Linked DNA regions of Homo sapiens: all the other regions are linked to region 3. The links are contacts of gene promoters, found by promoter capture Hi-C in blood cells and fetal thymus (Javierre and others, 2016). All regions are on one chromosome and are shown on one strand. Each heading gives the region's core, a stretch centred on a gene start or on the middle of the fragment in contact. The rest is flanking DNA. Distances are from core to core; before and after follow the strand shown.

What was found. Contacts are between HindIII fragments. The CHiCAGO score rates a contact against its expected background, and 5 or more counts as called.
Region 1: a contact is called between a fragment that was not itself captured here and the fragment with the promoter of EXOSC4 in region 3, in 2 of 17 cell types (erythroblasts and endothelial precursors). The highest score is 7.4, in erythroblasts.
Region 2: a contact is called between a fragment that was not itself captured here and the fragment with the promoter of EXOSC4 in region 3, in 1 of 17 cell types (erythroblasts). The highest score is 7.7, in erythroblasts.

Annotation. Positions count from the first base shown.
Region 1 is chr8:144,383,512-144,387,117 of GRCh38, forward strand. All of the region lies in intron 3 of ADCK5 (aarF domain containing kinase 5), which reads left to right. Among named protein-coding and RNA genes, the nearest start is that of MIR939, 8.9 kb to the right of the region's middle. The HindIII fragment of the contact is 2,664 bases long and covers 883-3,546 here.
Region 2 is chr8:144,448,535-144,452,350 of GRCh38, forward strand. It overlaps TMEM276-ZFTRAF1 (TMEM276-ZFTRAF1 readthrough), which reads right to left. Exons shown (of 5, transcript NM_001408018.1): 5 at 1,048-2,236. The coding sequence ends at 1,845. It overlaps ZFTRAF1 (zinc finger TRAF-type containing 1), which reads right to left. Exons shown (of 4, transcript NM_001330618.2): 4 at 1,048-2,236. The coding sequence ends at 1,845. Among named protein-coding and RNA genes, the nearest start is that of TONSL, 6.0 kb to the left of the region's middle. The HindIII fragment of the contact is 1,444 bases long and covers 974-2,417 here.
Region 3 is chr8:144,076,493-144,079,992 of GRCh38, forward strand. It overlaps EXOSC4 (exosome component 4), which reads left to right and starts at 2,180. Exons shown (of 3, transcript NM_019037.3): 1 at 2,180-2,407; 2 at 3,451-3,500. The coding sequence starts at 2,237. It overlaps MIR6847 (microRNA 6847), which reads left to right and starts at 3,382; the gene lies at 3,382-3,450. It overlaps LOC124902038 (a long non-coding RNA gene), which reads right to left. Exons shown (of 2, transcript XR_007061141.1): 2 at 1,507-3,500. RefSeq lists enhancers at 1,892-1,941, 1,952-2,251. The HindIII fragment of the contact is 1,430 bases long and covers 1,401-2,830 here.

The DNA of each region.
Region 1 (3,606 bases), core at 965-3,464, 310 kb after region 3:
GGCCTTAGTGGGGAGGCGCTCCAGCCCTGGGCCCGTGCCTTCTCCCTCAGGCTTCTAGGCTGGCAGAGAAGCAGCTGCCCTGCCTTCCTTCTCTTCTTGCCCCATTCCAAGGTTTGGGCCTGGGAGAGGAGGCTGCCTCTGTCCCTTGCCCTGGAGATGGGCAAAATCGGGTTATTGCTGTCAGGGCCCTTTCTTCCTCCATTACCTTACAGTGAAGAACTCAGGGGGAGGGTGAGGACACCTTCTGTTGGAACCCTTGGGTGGGCATTCCTGCTTTTGTCAGATCCCGGAATTCCTGCAGCCACAAAGCCCTGCTAGCCTGAGCCTGGTGGAACCAGCTCTTGGCTTTGAGAGAAACCTGTTAGCCCAAAGCCCTTTTTTTTTTTTTTTTTTTTTTTTGAGACAGAGTCTCGCTCTGTCACCCAGGCTGGAGTGCAGTGGCGCAATCTCGGCTCACTCAAGCCCCGCCTCCCTGGTTCACGCCATTCTCCTGCCTCAGCCTCCTGAGTAGCCGGGACTACAGGTGCCCACCACCATGCCTGGCTAAATTATTTATTTATTTATTTATTTATTTAGTATTTTTAGTAGAAACGGGGTTTCACTGTGTTAGCCAGGATGGTCTCGATCTCCTGACCTCGTGATCCACCCGCCTCGGCCTCCCAAAGTGCTGGGATGACAGGCGTGAGTCACCGTGCCCAGCCCCCAAAGCCCTTTTGAATGGAGCGTCAGGGCAGGAAGGAGGCAGGGAGGGTGTGGTCCTGTTCTGCCTGCCTCCGAGCATCTGCCAGGCCTAGGTCAGTTTCTCAGCAAGTGCCTCGGCTTCTGGTGCCTTCAGAGATTTCACCAGAAGTTTCACAGAAATTTCCTCCAGCAGTGAGTGGAAGCTTGTGGATAGCTGGGCACCTGAGGATTTTCAGCCTAAAAGACAAAACAGTCGTTCCCCACGTGGGTCTCCCTGGCATCTGGTTTTGCTTGGAGTTCCTGCTGTCCCTGCCTGCAGATTTTGGGTGGCATTGTCTGTCTTGCAGGGCCATCCAGTCTCGCAGCCTGGGGTGGGTGACGACAGAGCCTCGGGTCCTCTGCCTTTTTCTCGTGACCCTCCGCTGCAGTGCATGCAAGGGCCACACAGGGCTGCCAGCCACCGTCCCCTGCAGCCTGGTTCTGAAATGTCGGCTTGGCAGGCCTGGGTTTGTCTCACCCTCTATTTCATGGCATGCAGCTGTGTCTGGTGTCCACCTCCTCGGCCACCGGCTTGGTGAGCCTGCGTTTTGGGCTCACTTTGTGGGAAAACATCTTCTCACAGCTCGCTCTCAGGGGCTGAGCTGGGGTTGCAGGGAGGGACCTCTGTTGTTAATTTTCCCAGCAGTCTGCACGTTCTCCTTGGCTCTAAGCCGTCACGGTTGCATAGACAAGCAGGCCTGTGGAGCTTCCCTGGCAGGGCACAGGGTAGCCTGGGAACACATCCTGGGTGACAGCAGCACCCATGCAGGGGCCCAGGAAGGAGCGCGGGTGAGGAGCATGGCGGTGCCAGTGCACCATGAGAAAAGGCAGCAGAGGTCAGAACAGGCCACAGGTACCCAAATGATCAGGGGCTGCCCAGGAAGGTGGAAGGTTTGGGACAATGTTTCTCTGCCTCAGAGCCCTGTCTTTAATCTCTGCCACTCCTTACATTTTCTTTTTTTTTTTTTTTTGAGACGGAGTCTTGCTCTGTCACCCAGGGTGGAGTGCAGTGGTGCGATCTCAGCTCACTGCAACCTGTGCTCCCTTGGTTTAAGCGACTCTCCTGTCTCGCCTCCCAAGCAGCTGGGATTTCGGGTGTGTGGCACCACGCCCGGCTAGTTTTTGTATTTTTAGTAGAGACAGGGTTTCGTCATGTTGGACAGGCTGGTCTCCAACTCTTGACCTCAGGTGAACTGCTCAGCTCGGCCTCTCAAAGTGCTGGGATTACAGGTGTGAGCCACCACACCTGGCCCTAAACTTAAATCACCACCAGGCGCGGTGGCTCACGCCTGTAATCCCAGCTACTTTGAGAGGCTGAGGCAGGGGAATCACTTGAACCTGGGAGGCGGAGGTTGCAGTGAACCAAGATCACGCCATTGCACTCCAGCCTGGAAGACAGAGCCAGACCCGTCTCAAAAAATAAAAATAAAAAATAAAATCACCTATATGTGGCCGGGCATGGTGGCTCACGCCTGTAATCCCAGAACTTTGGGAGGCCGAGGTGGGTGGATCACGAGGTCAGGAGATCGAGACCATCCTGGCTAACATGGTGAAACCCCGTCTCTACTAAAAAATACAAAAAATTAGCCGGGCTTGGTGGCGGTTGCCTGTAGTCCCAGCTACTTGGGAGGCTGAGGCAGGAGAATGGCGTGAACCCGGGAGGCGGAGCTTGCAGTGAGCCAAGATCACGCCACTGCACTCTAGCCTGGGTGACAGAGCGACTCTCTGTCTCAAAAAAAAAAAAAATCACCTATGTGTTTTGCTTTCCCCCACCGCCCCTTTTTCTTTTATTTTTTGGAGACAGTCTCACTCTGTTGCCCAGGCTGGAGTGCAGTGGCTTCGTCTCAGCTCACTGCAACCTCCATATCCCAGGTTCAAGCAATTCTCATGCTTCGGCCTCCCGAGTAGCTGGGACTACAGGTGTGCGCGCCACCATGCCCGGCTAATTTTTTATATTTTTAGTAGAGATGGGGTTTTGCCATGATGCCCAGGCTGGTCTTGAACTCCTGAGTTCAGGTGATCCGTTTGCCTCAGCCTCCCAAATGGCTGGGATTACAGGTGTGAGCTATCATACCTGAACTAAATTTAACTTTTTTTTTAAAATTTTTTAATTTTTTATTTAACTTATTTTTTTTTATTTTTTGAGATGGAGTTTCGCTCTTGCTGCCCAGGCTGGAGTGCAATGGTGGGATCTCGGCTCACTGCAACCTCCATCTCCCGGGTTCAAGCGATTCTCCTGTCTTAGCCTTCTGAGTAGCTGGAATTACAGGTGCCCACCATCACGCCCGGCTAATTTTTGTATTTTCAGTAGCAATAGGGTTTCATCATGTTGGCCAGGCTGGTCTTGAACTGCTGACCTCAAGTGATCTGCCCGCCTCGGACTCCCAAAGTGCTGGGATTACAGGCATGAGCCACCACGCAGGCCATGCCTGGAGTTTTTGTTGGGGTATTAATACTTGGGCGGGATTGATTGAAAATCTCCAGTTTCTCAGAAAATCCCAGGAATTCAGTTTCCAGCCCCGGTCCTCCCGCTCCCATCCCCGTGGGCCCCAAAGTGGTGGGTCTTCGCCCTGAGTCCCTTCTTAGCATAAGCCCTCAGGGCCACCATGGAAAACAGAGGCACTCCTTATCACTCAGGAAATCCCAAGGACTTAAGAAGGGACAAAGGTCAGTCCTCTGTTTGGGTAAAGTTAATTCTTCATTGCACATGATTGGACACCTTTGAAGATTACAGGCTTGTAAGTATTGTATAACAAGAGTCAGCAAACTGTGGTCCCTGGGCCAAGTGCAGGGGCCTAGTGTGGCAGCTGTCTGATTTGCAAATAAAGCTTTATTGGAACACAGCCATGCCCATGCATTGCCTGTGACCACTTGGTGCACAGTTGC
Region 2 (3,816 bases), core at 446-2,945, 370 kb after region 3:
CTAGAGGGCGTCGGGCTTCCAAAGAGATGTAGAGCCATAGCCCAACCCTCTGCGCCTGTGGGTGGAGCATGAGGGAGGACAGCCCCAAAGCGCAGCCCTGAGGTGCCCAAGTTCACCCTGGTGGTGCCAGAGTCAGAGGCAGCTGCTCCCAAGGATGTGCTGGGGGCTGGGTGGGGTCTTTCTTTGTGGTCAGCAGAAAACCAAACATGGGGCCTTCCCATGCCCTTGGTGGCCAGGCCACATCAGCTCTGCAGGAGATAAGGCTCCGGCAGCGAGGCACTCCCAGCAGGCCACACGCCCTGGCCTGGGAGTAGAAACCCACAGCATTCTCAGAAACAGCTCCAGAAAGTTTCAGCCCGTGAGGGGCAGTGCGGCGGCCCGGGAGGGAAGAGCTGACTGGGAGGGTCATGCTGGGCTGTGCCATGGTCAGCCGCCCGGATGATGGCGCTTACATTCTGCCCCCAGTTCCTCTCCATTTCTCAGCCCTCGACCCGTGACCAGCAAAGCACAGGACAATGTGGGCCAGGCCCCAGCAGCCAGTGGGGGCGGGTTGGGCTGCTGTGAGGCAAGTTAATGCACCTGACTGGAGCAGAGGAAACCAGTTCTTTGGTATTGAAGCAACAAAAAGCTATCACGGAAGAGCCACATCTCCTAAGCAAAGGTGGGGGCGTCAAGCTGTATCCTTCCCAGTAGCCCTGGGAGTCCCAGGGGAAGAAAGGACCAGGGATTACCCCTCCAGGCAGGGTTCCTTCCCATCCTGTTAGGCCAGCCCTGCTCAGCCACCACGGGGCACATCAGGGGGCGGCCAGGGTGAGGATGGGAAGGGCCCACCTCCTCCAGGTGAGAAGCTGGGCTGCCCAACCTCTGACCTCTGCAGCGAGCCCTGAATGCAGGGCCAGCAGCAGGACCCCGAGAGCAGCATGGGGGACACACCTCAGACTCTCACCCAGCCAGGCGCCCAAGCACTGACCCAAGCTTTCCACACAGCCTGGGGACGCTGGGCCCTCAAGGCTGAATCTACAGTAAATAGACTCTTTCTCACTAAAATTGTGTAACTTATCCAAGAGCCTGCAAGGAGTTTAATCTTTTTCCTGGGAAGAGACAATTTCACCCTGCTTTCGGAAAATGCCTGCTGAGCCCTGGTGGCTGAGTCCTGTCTCCCTGGGAGCGGCCGGTTGGCCAGGGCAGCCCCGACCCTACCTGGATCTTCCTGCCCAAGCCTCAGTCTCAAGACCCCATGACAGAGTGTAGGGGGAGGCAGTGTCTCTGAGTCTTTCCTCGGGGGACGTGTGCGGGCACACAGATGGGGGCGGGGCAGGCTCTGACCCCCAGGCCAAACCAAAGCCCCCACGCTGTCCATTCACAGCCATGCCTTCCCCTCGAACAAAACAGAAAGTACGAAACAAGGCTGCCTTTTAATTGCTATCAGATATTCGGATATCCCGTCTGATGTCAGCAAGGCCCCCGCGCCCCGCCGGAACCCGCAGGGATGGAGCAGCACCGCCGCCTGACTGCACAGAAGGGCTGGGGCAGGGTCGCTGTGCCTCTCGGCCTCCTTGCTGCCACCGTCTCTGAGCCTCGGGGCGCCTGGTGCACCGTCTCCTCTTCGGGTCAGCCCAGCCTCTGGCGGCCCTCGGAAGGAGGGGAGGCAGGGGTCGGGGGGGTGAGCCGGAGGCGGGGGCCCCGTCGCGCACGCATGCAGACTTGCCCTGTGTTGGCTTCGTTTGTTCTCCTCCTTTGCTAAAGTGATCAGATAGTCCTGTGAAGCAGCTGCCAGCCAGGTGGACAGGGCAGCGGTGCTGGGATGCCGCCCGTGGGCTCCTCGGACATCCTGAGGCCCCGCCCTACTTCTGTATCTGGAACAGGAAGAGCCGCAGGTTGATGTTCTTGGCAGCCAGCAGCTTGTTGCACTCCACGGAGTCAATGATGGGCAGTGGCACGTAGTCCGTCTCGTTGCTCTCGTTGGTGAAGACAAAGTGGTAGATGACGGGGCTGATCCTCACGTCGTCGTAGGGGCCCTTGAGCAGCAGGAAGGAGCACTCCAGCGGTGCCGTGACCTTGCTCTTGAGGAGGAGCTGGAAGGAGAGCGTACGCTTGCAGGACAGGTTGGGGTTACGCTCCGAGTCGTTGACTCGAGCCTTCAGGACCCACGTCTGGTTCAGCACTGTGAACCTGGGCGTCTCATAGTACAGGCGCGTGATGAAGTCGTCTGTGCGGTACGGCCGGAACTGGACCTCTGTGGAGACAGACAGGGCCGGAAAGAGCCGGCTGTTAGTGTGGGCAGGGCTGGGCAGCAACGCCTTCCCTGACCAGGCCGAGGGCAGGCTCAGCCGGGGAGGAAGGCAACTTACCCGGACACCGGGCTCTGCTTGTCACAAGCAAGCCAAACGCAACTATGGCAAATGGAGGTGCACACAAGCTTTGAGGGGAACAACCACAAACAGAATCAACATGGATTAGCTGGAGAGTCCAGAGGCTGCACGTGTCAGGCCACACCCCAGGCGTGCCCGACCCACGCTGGCCTCCCTCACCGCCCCGAGCCCCGGGTGTCCCCCAGGGCGGGGTAAGCAGACACACAGACAGGATGCGGTTCCGAGAACAAGTGCACTTTATTGGTTCTGATACAGAGGAGCTGCCAGAAAAGCCAGCAGGCGGCTGCGGCACCCAGCCCTGCCCGAGGGGAGCACCAGGTCTGCAGGCACCGGGCCTGATCCGGAGCTGCCAATCAGCAGGCAGCCCTGCCTGCACAGTCCTCTTGGGCAGCCCACAGCCTGTGGCCGGCAAGTCCCTCCGTGGAGGCGTGGGTTCCCAGGTGGCCAGTCTTTCCTGCGCGAATGGGGCTTCTCACCTGGCCACGGCCACAGCCACAGTGCCCCAGCCTGCCTAGACTCCACGAGGCCCCGGTATCTCCAGGACAGCTAAGGCTGCTACTCACCACGGGCTGTGGCTGCCGCAGAGACCCCAGGCCCTCGGCCTCTCTGGCCTGCTCGGGCCCACATCCCGCTGGGCACAGTCCAGGCAGCAGGGCGGGACTGGCTGCCCACGACCACCCTGCTTGCGCCACGCCTGGTGCTCTGAGCTGGCCGCCTGGTGTGGGCTGAGAGTAGAGGGATGGAGCTTCCTCCAGTGGCCCCAGCATCAACAGGTGCTTCTCGCTGTCCTCTGGGCCAGGCTCTGGCCTGGCTCCTGCTCCCCGACACGTTCAAAGGCGGTGGCAGCGGCCCAGAGAGCCACGAGATCCAGTGTGCCTGCGCACGCATCCAGCCTGGGCGTCTGTGGGTGTCCACTCCCGGTTCTACAGTTTGAGTCGGGCACCCTCAGCTTGTTGTGGAGCCCTCTCCCTGAATGGCTTCGTGCCAGCCTTGAGAGGCCCATGGCCGGGGCAGTGACTGCCTGCAGGTAGGACCTCACTCGGCAGGGTGCTCTTCTTGCCCCAGGGTCCGAGGGGCAGGCCCCTAGCTCCCAGGCCCCCTGAGACCTGCCCACTTTCTGGTTAGACCCTGACTGTCTTGAGGCTCTGGAGCCCCACAGTGAGATGCCACCTTGCAGGGATGGTGAAGCCAGGGTGGCGAGGACAGGTGGGCGGGGCTGCTGTGAGAGCCACACAGGTGTGCACCTGGGGTCTGCCTCGGCCCCTCCTTCCACTCAGTCTCCGGCCTGTCTTCTCGACCGAGGTGTCCACCTGTCCACCGGGAGCTTGTCCAGAGCCCGGCTGTCCGGCGCTGTCAGTGCCCAGTGCCCAGAGCCTGCTGCCCCCAGACTCCTGGCTGCCAGCCCCCCAACCCACACCTGTGTGGCATGCAGCAGGCGGCGGGG
Region 3 (3,500 bases), core at 930-3,429:
GTACGAGGGTCAGAGAACCAAAGGTGTGAGGTAGGAGTGGCCCCATAATCCTAAACCTGTAATGCTGCCAGGTTGGAGGCCTGGTTCCTGAAGATGAATACTTCCACCAGGGAACACAGCAAAGGTTCCACTGATCTTGAAGTAGCGGCTATCACTGGCCCACTTTGGACACCTTAGGCTGAAGACCAACATCGTCCTCATTGTCCTGAGTTGCTACGGTCAATGCTACACAACTGGGGTGGGCAGTCCACAGAGCTCCCTGGGCGTCTAGTCTTCCCGCATGCGGCAAGGACTGTCAGTGGACAACCCAGTAATGGCCATGCGTGGTGGCGGGAGGCCGAGGCAGGTGGATCACCTGAGGTCAGGAGTTCAAGATCAGCCTGGTCAACATGGTGAAACCCCATCTCTACTAAAACTACAAAAAAAAAGTTAGCAGGGCATGGTGGTGCATGCCTGTAATCCCAGCTACCTGGGAGGCTGAGGTAGGAGAATCGTTTGAACCCAGGAGGTGGAGGTTGCAGTGAGCTGAGATTGTGCCACTGCACTCCAGCCTGGGTGACAGTGAGACTCCATCTCCAAAAAAAAAAAAAAAACCTTAGCCAGGCATAGTGGCAGGTGCCTGTAATCCCACCTTCCCAGCTACTTGGGAGGCTGAGATAGAAGAATCACTTGAACCCTGGAGGTGGAGGGTGCAGTGCGCTGACATTGTGCCACGGCACTCTAGCCTGGGTGCAGAGTAAGACTCCATCTCAAAAAACAAAACAAAACAAAGAAACAAACGAAAAAAACGATGACTCAGTAAGAACAGGGACAGTAAGAGCTCAGACTGAAAGGGGAAAAGGGCTCCACAATAAGCAGAGTGGCTGTAGAGCAGAGGGTGGGGAATCCGGGGTGGCAAGTGGCAGAGGGTGGTGACCCATCATGGCCTCAGACCAGCTGCAGCAGCAGGGTTGTGGCTTGCTCACTCACTCTCATGCCTCAGTCTTTCAGGAGAGCTTAACCACCTTGGAGGGGATGCTGTGACAACTGAACTTGGGCCCCTGCAGCAGACCACATTTCCCTAGCCCGCCTGCTCTTCCTACAGTCTAATATTGACACTCCTCCCACTGAAGGGTGGGGTCCCTGTCCTCATCCCTTAAGCCTGGGCAGATCTGTCTGACTGCCTTGACCCACAGAGTGTGGCAGGAGGGACACTATGTGACTTCTGAGGTTAGGTCCTAAAAATACCATGCACATGTTGTCCACCTTGTTGTCCTGGAAGGCTACCCTTGGAACCCAGTTGCCATACTGCAAGGAAGCCCTGGTTGCATGGAGAAGCCACATGTAGGTGTGCTGCCTGACAGGCACAGATGAGGTCCTGGCCCGCCACCAGCATCAGCCACCAAAGATGTGAGGGAGAAAGCTTTAGGATGGCTGCAGCCCCAGCTACCATCTGGCAGCAACTGTAGGAGAGATCCTAAGTGCAAACTATCTAGCTGAGCCTAGATAACCCCAGATTGCAGCACATAATAATAGAATGATTTTTATTATTTGAAGCCGCTGAGGTTAAGTGGCAAGAGATAAACAGACATACAACCCCTCTCTGGAAAGGATGAGGAAATCTGCATCCTCAAAGGGAAAAGGGAGGCCCACCTGACTGCAGTGTGGAAGCTCGGTGTAAAGGGAGGGCATGAGAGGACTGGAGAGGTGCCAGGTGTGGACCATCCTGGGACACCAGCCTGGTCACTTTCCTAGGACCGCTCAATGCCTTCTCCTGTCAGTGTCGCACCCCACTGGGTTCATCCTTCCACTTTCACACTTGGGGCGCGGGGAAGGGCTGAATGCAGGCACCACTGGTCACGAGGGCGTGACTGGGCAATTCCTCCTTCGGCGGGCGCCCACCTCCTGGCACCCGTGGCACAGCTCCGGGAACGGCTGCGGGCCCAGCCGCTGCTTCCCCGATAGCGCCGCCGCAGTTCCCCGGAGACAGAAGTAGAGCCGGACCGCCGGAAACCGTAGATCCGGGGAGGTCGGGGCCGCGGTGAACTCCAGTTCACCAGGACAGGAAGTGACAGCGGAACGCCGGAAACCGCAGATCCACGGAGGTCAGGGCCGCGGAGAGCTGTAGTTCCCCGGAACCGGAAGTGATGGCGGACCTCCGGAAACCGTAGATTCCGGGCGGTCGGAGCCGCCGGGAGCTGTAGTTCTCCCGCGGCTCAGAGAAGTAGGCAGAGAGCGGACCTGGCGGCCGGGCAGCATGGCGGGGCTGGAGCTCTTGTCGGACCAGGGCTACCGGGTGGACGGGCGGCGCGCCGGGGAGCTGCGCAAGATCCAGGCGCGGATGGGCGTGTTCGCGCAGGCTGACGGCTCGGCCTACATTGAGCAGGGCAACACCAAGGCACTGGCTGTGGTCTACGGCCCGCACGAGGCGAGTGGGCGCGCGGGATGGGGAATCGTGTGGCCGTGGGAGCTGCGGGGCAGCCGGGCTGAGCGCTGGCTCGGGGACTTGAGGGGCAACGGCCGGCGCGCCTCAGTCTACACAGCCGATGCTCAGCACCGCATCTCACTCGGAGTAAACGCAAGTCCTTAGTGTGCTGCGCGGTGGTCCTGCCTTTCTCATCGGCCTCTGTCCCTGCGCCCTCCTTCCTCTTTGCGGCTCTTCAACGTGCTAGGCACTCCCCCACTCGCTCCCTCTCCTTTCAGCTCTACTCCGACGTCACTCCTTCCCAGACGACCTTATTATCCACGCGGTACTTCTCGCCCTACAATAAACCCTTTGTTTTGTGCACCTACAATCTCAAATGCCTATTTTGCTTAAGCATTTTCCCCTTTGTTTCCTCGCTGGAACATAAGCTTCCTAAAGAAAGGAACTTTACATAAAACTATCTGGTTTCATTACTGTGCTTCCAGCGCTGTAACTGCCTGGCCAGCGAAGGTATTGAAAGAGTGTTTGCTTAGCGCATGAGTGTGGGAGCTCTGCTTTCCAGGCGGAGGGAACCAGAAGGGCGAAGACCACGGTGGTGAAAACAAGCAAGGCACTTATGCAGAGCAGAAAGACTGCTGGTGGGGAAAGAGGGGATAACTCCAAATCAGGTTGAGGGTTCCCGGGGAGGTGAGGACTTAGGGTTTTGTAGAGTAGGGAAATGATTTGGGATCTTATTTCATATGTAATGTGAAACCTTTGTAAGGTAGTTAGGATTTGAGTGTGTAGGTGAGACAGAAGCAGCGTTGATGTTTGTAAACTTGGGTTGGCAGGGAATGGGGCAAGGATGGACACAAGGAAGCCAATTAAAAGGTGCCAGAGGGCGACACATGCAAGACAGAGAGCGCAAAACAGGGGGCTTTGTTTTGGAGGTAACGCAGTTGCCCCTTGCTGAGGCATTGAAAGTGGAGGGAGAGGCAGACCCACAGAGGACAGTGGAGTGTGAGCTGGAAGGAGTGGGCCTGGCTCATGTGTCTGTCCTCTTCCAGATCCGGGGCTCCCGGGCTCGAGCCCTGCCGGACAGGGCCCTAGTGAACTG